Regions from separate parts of the Homo sapiens genome. Here region 1 is linked to region 2. The links are contacts of gene promoters, found by promoter capture Hi-C in blood cells and fetal thymus (Javierre and others, 2016). All regions are on one chromosome and are shown on one strand. Each heading gives the region's core, a stretch centred on a gene start or on the middle of the fragment in contact. The rest is flanking DNA. Distances are from core to core; before and after follow the strand shown.

Region 1 (2,847 bases), core at 117-2,616, 150 kb after region 2:
CAAGTAGCTGGGACCACAGGTACATACCACCATGCCTGGCTAATTTTTTTTTTTTTTTAATTATTTGCAGAGATGGTCTCCCTGTGTTGCCCAGCCTGGAAAATGTATGTTCTAAAAATAGTACAGCACCGCGATGTCTTCAGCATGAAGCCACTGGAGGCAGCATGGCAGGCTCCAGTCACCCCAGCACTCACCAGTTCTTACAGGCCTTCCTCTTTTTCCCTTCCCCACAAGAAGCAGCCCGCAGGGAAGCTGGATCTGGCTTCTTCAAATCTTCTGGATCCAGCAGCTCATCTGAGTCAATGAGATCCTGGAGAGTGTTCAAAGCAATGAGTGATACAGTCGTGGTCTCTGCTAATGAAAAGCTAAAGTGACTGCAGGCTTCGAGAGGAAACTTGGAGTCCAGGGTAAAGAAGGTGTCCACCCTGTCCTCCTTTTGGTTGATCATCATGTTCAACCTGACCACATGCTCAAGAGGCCAACGGTGAGTTAAACTACATCCACAGAAGATGCACTAGGATGCAAAGGAATTAGAAACAAATTTACATGAGAAAAAGCTGTATGACTGGCCAGCAATGTGTAGAGAATATACACATGTTGGGGGTTGGGGGCAGGAGTGGGGAGAAGGGAGGGAACAGGCAGAACAGAGAAAGAGAGAAGTGTTTATGAAGAGTCACGTGAAAAAGGGAATAAAATATCTTTTACATAATCCCAGATAAAAATCAAATAATTATATATACCTTTATGTAATTCTTTGTAAATGTGTAGACACTTAGTCTGTAAACCCTATGAGAGCATGAACCTCACTTATTTTGCTCACTACTCTAACTTCAATAGTAGAGGTGTAGAAATGAAGAACTTTATTACAGACATGGCCAAAGATAGAAAATAGTGCTTTTTAAAGCATGGAACAGTCAGCAACTTGCCCAAAGGTGCCAATAAAACTATTTAAGCTGACAAAATCTTTTCAGGTTTACACATGCCCACAAGAGTTTTCAACATATCGTATGAAGTGAGAACAAGAAATTATGTGGGGAAAAAGAGATGCTAAAAAATTTAAAATGCCACCAACATGGCCAAGCGCAGTGGCTCACACCTGTAATCCCAGCACTTTGGGAGGCCGAGGCGGGCAGATCACTTGAGGTCAGGAGTTTTGCGACCAGTCTGGCCAACATGGTGAAACCCCGTCTCTGCTAAAAACGCAAAAATTGGCCAGGTGTGGTGGCACATGCCTGTAATCATAGCTACTTGGGAGGCTGAAACATGAGAATCGCTTGAACCCGGGAGCAGAGATTGCAGTAAGCCGAGATTGTGCCATTGCACTCCAGCTTGGGCAAGAGAGCGAGACTGTCTCCAAAAAAAAAGCCACCAACATGGAGTTTCCTTCTAAATCAAAGATGTGACAGGCATAGTCACAAATCTGGGCTTTAAATACGTTCACACCTACAAGTCCAGAAAGGTCACTATAGCTGTTCACACCCAAACTGGGGCCTGAAAGAAAGCAATCAAGTGACAATGCTGCCAGCTCACCATGCTGTCGTCCTCCATATCGTTGGCTGAGAGGGTCCACAGCTTGGCAGCAGCAGGGTCCACAGCAGGTTTCACTGAGTCCAAGCAATAAAAGAAAAAACTCCATAAACACAGTCAGAAACTATTAATTACAAACATACATAAATGCTTCCTGCTGTGTAGAAGAGAACACACTGGCCTGGGAGGCAGAAGATGTGGGTTCACAGTCCAGCTCTACCCCTCTGAGAGGTCTGACCTTGGGCCAACCACTTGCTGATAGTTACAGAAGTCACCATTTGCTAAGCTCTTGCTTTGCACCAGGCACCATATTAAGCACTTATATACATTATCTAACTTAATTCTGCTGACAACCTTATGAGGTAACTATCTGTCATCCTACTTTTACCGCTGAGGAAACAGGTTTAGACACTTAGGCTGGTTCCACAGGCTGCAAAGCCTGTCTGATGCTTTTAACCTCCATTCCATATTGCTTCCTCCTCGATACCTTAGTTTCCATTCTATAACATGAAGTTAAATTGTACTTCCTATGTTACTGCAGGTGTTTTGAGGATTAAATGAGAAATGTGTCAAAACCTTCAAAAATAGCAGAGCTTTAGCCTCATGTAAACCTGCTACATACAAGAAAATAGGCTCTAGAGCTGCTGGTGGCAAGGTAACACCATCAGTGGCAGACAAACCTCACACTTCCTGGTTCTCTGTCTAGTCAGGAGAATGCAAGGAAGAGGCAGAGAGCTGAGGCTCGGATGCAGTGTGGGCAAATCCTCGCAGGCCCTTGGGGTAAGAGTACCCTCTAGTGATCATTGTCACAGCTGGATGCTCATACCTTCCACAAGGCCAACTGTTCTAAGCTATTCCTACCCATTCTGGAACCATGAATCGAAAGGTTAGATTCCAAAGGATTTCTTGAAGATTTAGGTTAGACAGTCAAAACCGTACAAGTGGGAATGTACCAGTAAATATCTGTTAATGTCTGCATACCTCACAGCTGGGTCAATTCAGGCATTTAAAAATAGGGATAGGAAGGATGAGGATGGAGCTGTGTGTGTGTGTGTGTGTGCGTGCGCGTGCGTGCACGCGTGTGCTTGTACACAATTTTCTAGTCAGAAGAAATATAGTTTTATAAGTGTCTTAGCATCCTCAAAGTAAGAACAGCTGATTTTCCTGGCATGGGGAAAAAAGCACATGAGAACAGGAACAGGGCACTCTCATACACCATTACCACTACACTGTGAGGTCTTCTGAGGAGAAACGTTAATTCTGGGACCTGGAAGGACCTCATTAATTAAACTGTGTGACTCAGTCCTGTAAAATTAGGAG
Region 2 (2,813 bases), core at 94-2,593:
CCCGCACCTGGAGAGGTCAGGGAAGGGAGACTGGACCTCAGCCCAGGGTCTGGCACCAAAGCAACCACCCTGCCCTCTAGCTTGGGCCTCGCAGCAGCGCTAGCACCCAGCAATAGGAGACAATGGGAAATGTCCACTCGCTGGATTGCTAAGAAATACAGGTCCTGGCCCAACTCCAATTCCACCTGAGTCCTCTGAAAATGTATCAGGCCCTCACCCACCCAGGGCACCCACCCAGCTTCCAGACCCTCACGAAAGGGTGGCAGAGGAAGAAGCTAACATCCGGGCCTGTGGCTGGTGTGGGAGTGGAGGATGTTCCCATGGGTCCGCCTCAGTTGGGGTCTGTACAGGGGTCTGGGAGAGAGTAGGAGTCTTGCCCCTGGCTACCCACAAACCCCTCCCTCCAGCGATATCTCGGTCCCGTGGGGCTGGCTAAACCGGCTGAAACCTGGCGGGTCACCCAGAGAAAGCTAGAAGAGCCCGGCTCCCGCGCGGGCGCCCACAGGGTAGTGCCTGAGTGTGCGTGTTGGGGAGTCGGATGTGCCCTCTAGATTAGATGAGGAATGTTCATGGGTGCGGCCACCCGGAGCCGCTGGGAGCGGGACAGAAGGTGGTCAGAGAGTGGACTTTGCCTCAGACTGGGTTCCCTAGAGGGCTGGGGGCACTGTCCGGGCAGAAAGAGGGGTGAAAAAGAGAGAGGAGGGAAGGGAGGGCTGGGAAGGGTTGGCGGGTTGTGCGCAGTGACTGTGGCTCCGGTGGGGGCTTCTGTGGCCGCTGGTAACCACCTTGGAGGGGGCACGATGGGGCACGGGCAGTGGGCACTCTGTACACGGTGCAGGGTGCTCACGCTCGCAGCGACGGCCACGGGGTAGTGTCGTGGTGAGAGGGATGCAGGGCGATCTTGGGGGCGTCCGTGCGGGAAGCGCCCTAGGGGTACGCGCAGCGCGTCGGTGACAGTGTGAGCCCGGGTGGGGAGCGCAAGGTTCGCGAAAAATGAACGCAGCGCCGGAGTCCCTCACCCATCCTGGCCGGACCGGGAGCCCCCGGCCAACCCCGTGGGCCCGCGCGTGCTCTCACCAGCTGCAGCAGCATGAGCGCCCCGAGGCGGGAGCGCACGAAGCCCAGGTCCGGGCGCAGCGCCGACACCGAGGCTTCGGCGCCCTGCGCAGGACTGCTGGTCCGCGTGCTAACTTTCGACGGGAACTCGGCCATGGCGGCTCCGCTTGCCTCCCGAGGTCGCTACGGCCGCCGTCGCCGCCCCTCCAGCGGTGGGTGCCGGCTCCCGCGCCGCTTTTCCCCCAGGCTCCGGATCCCTGTGTGGCTCCAGGCGCTGCAGGAGGCGTCGGGGCTGGGAGCCTGGGGCGCCAGGTGCGGCCGAGATCCCGGCTCCGCCCCCGCCGCCGGGGCCGCCCCCTTAACCCTTTGCTCGCCGCCGCCGCCCCAGCCGCGACCGGTTCGTGGGCAGCCGCGTCCACTCCCCGGACCAGTAAACAACCCCGGGTCCGTGAATCGGCTCCGCCAGCACCAGCCTAGACCGCTTCGCCGGCCTCCCCCGGGGCAAGCCGCCCGCTGGGAATTTCCCGGCTCTCGCCCAGGCCGTGGTAGCTTCCGCGCCTAGGGATAAACTTGTGGTAGCTCGCGGGGGACACCGCTCTCCCAGGCGCTTTCTACGCGCTGTGCACCCTCGGCCTAGGCCCCGGCGCAGCGACTCTTGAAGAGTCCCGGGAGAAGGCTGGATGCGGTGGCTCCTGCCTCTGATCGCAGCACTTTGGGAGGCTAAGGTGAAAGGATAATTTCAGGCCAAGAGTTCGAGACCAGCCTGGGTAACACAGTGAGACGCCCCCCCTCCCCCCGTCTGTATTTTATAGAAAAGAAAGTAAAGAAGAATCCTGGGAGACCCAGCGCGGGGAAGGGGAGGGTCTGGGTAAGCGGTGGGTAAGCGGTAGAAGGGGGAGGTCCTTTTCTGCCTATTAATGCTGTTTTCACTTCTGAACATATTTTATATAACTTAGATGATCGCGGAGCCTCAGTTTCCTCGTCTGTCATATAGATACGAAGGAAACCTGCCTCACAGAGCGTTGTAGGGAATAAATGAAATATTCCCCAGAAAGCTCCTGACAGCGTGAGGGAGGAGGGGTCACTCAGAAGATGGGAGGTCATATACAGTTTCATTGCCACACATGCACCCTAAAATACTTACACACACACACACACCTCTTGAGCCTAGAGGTTTGCACAGATAGGTCATCATGCATTCATCAACCAATGTTTGCTGAACACCTACTACATGCCAGGCCCTGTGGATACAGCAGGAAACGAAGTAGACAAGGCCTTCTTGGCTCCCACATTTTTTTTTTCCCAAATACCCACTTAAAAAGAGAGCCACTTAAAAAATTGTTTTTAACTGACATGTAATATTAGGTTGGTGCAAAAGTTATACGGTTTTTGCATATAAAAGTATAGCAAAAACCGCAATTACTTTTTCGGCAACCTATAATTGTACCTAAATATGGGGTACCATGTGATGTTTTGGTACCTGTGTACGTTGTGTAAAAAAATCAAATCAAGGTACTTAGCATATCCATCACCTCATACATTTATGGCTTCTTTGGGGTGAGAACATTCAAAATCCCCACTTCTAGCTACCATATTTTGAAATATACAATATTAGGGCCAGGCGCTGTGGCTCACGCCTATAATCCCAGCACTTTGGGAGGCCAAGGCAGGCAGATCACCAGAGGTCATGAGTTTGAGACCAGCCTGGTCAACATGGCAAAACCCTGTCTCTACAAAAATACAAAAAAATTAGCCAG

Evidence for each region. Contacts are between HindIII fragments. The CHiCAGO score rates a contact against its expected background, and 5 or more counts as called.
Region 1: a fragment that was not itself captured here is called in contact with the fragment with the promoter of PLLP in region 2 in 1 of 17 cell types (naive CD4 T cells); the score reaches 5.1 in naive CD4 T cells.

The regions. Positions count from the first base shown.
Region 1 is chr16:57,430,957-57,433,803 of GRCh38, forward strand. CIAPIN1 (cytokine induced apoptosis inhibitor 1) reads right to left here. Exons shown (of 9, transcript NM_020313.4): 6 at 1,531-1,604; 7 at 195-310. Among named protein-coding and RNA genes, the nearest start is that of CIAPIN1, 15 kb to the right of the region's middle. The HindIII fragment of the contact is 3,500 bases long and covers 1-2,847 here.
Region 2 is chr16:57,283,329-57,286,141 of GRCh38, forward strand. It overlaps PLLP (plasmolipin), which reads right to left and starts at 1,344. Exons shown (of 4, transcript NM_015993.3): 1 at 1,078-1,344. The coding sequence starts at 1,212. RefSeq lists an enhancer at 422-1,083 and a silencer at 1,128-1,537. The HindIII fragment of the contact is 12,639 bases long and covers 1-2,813 here.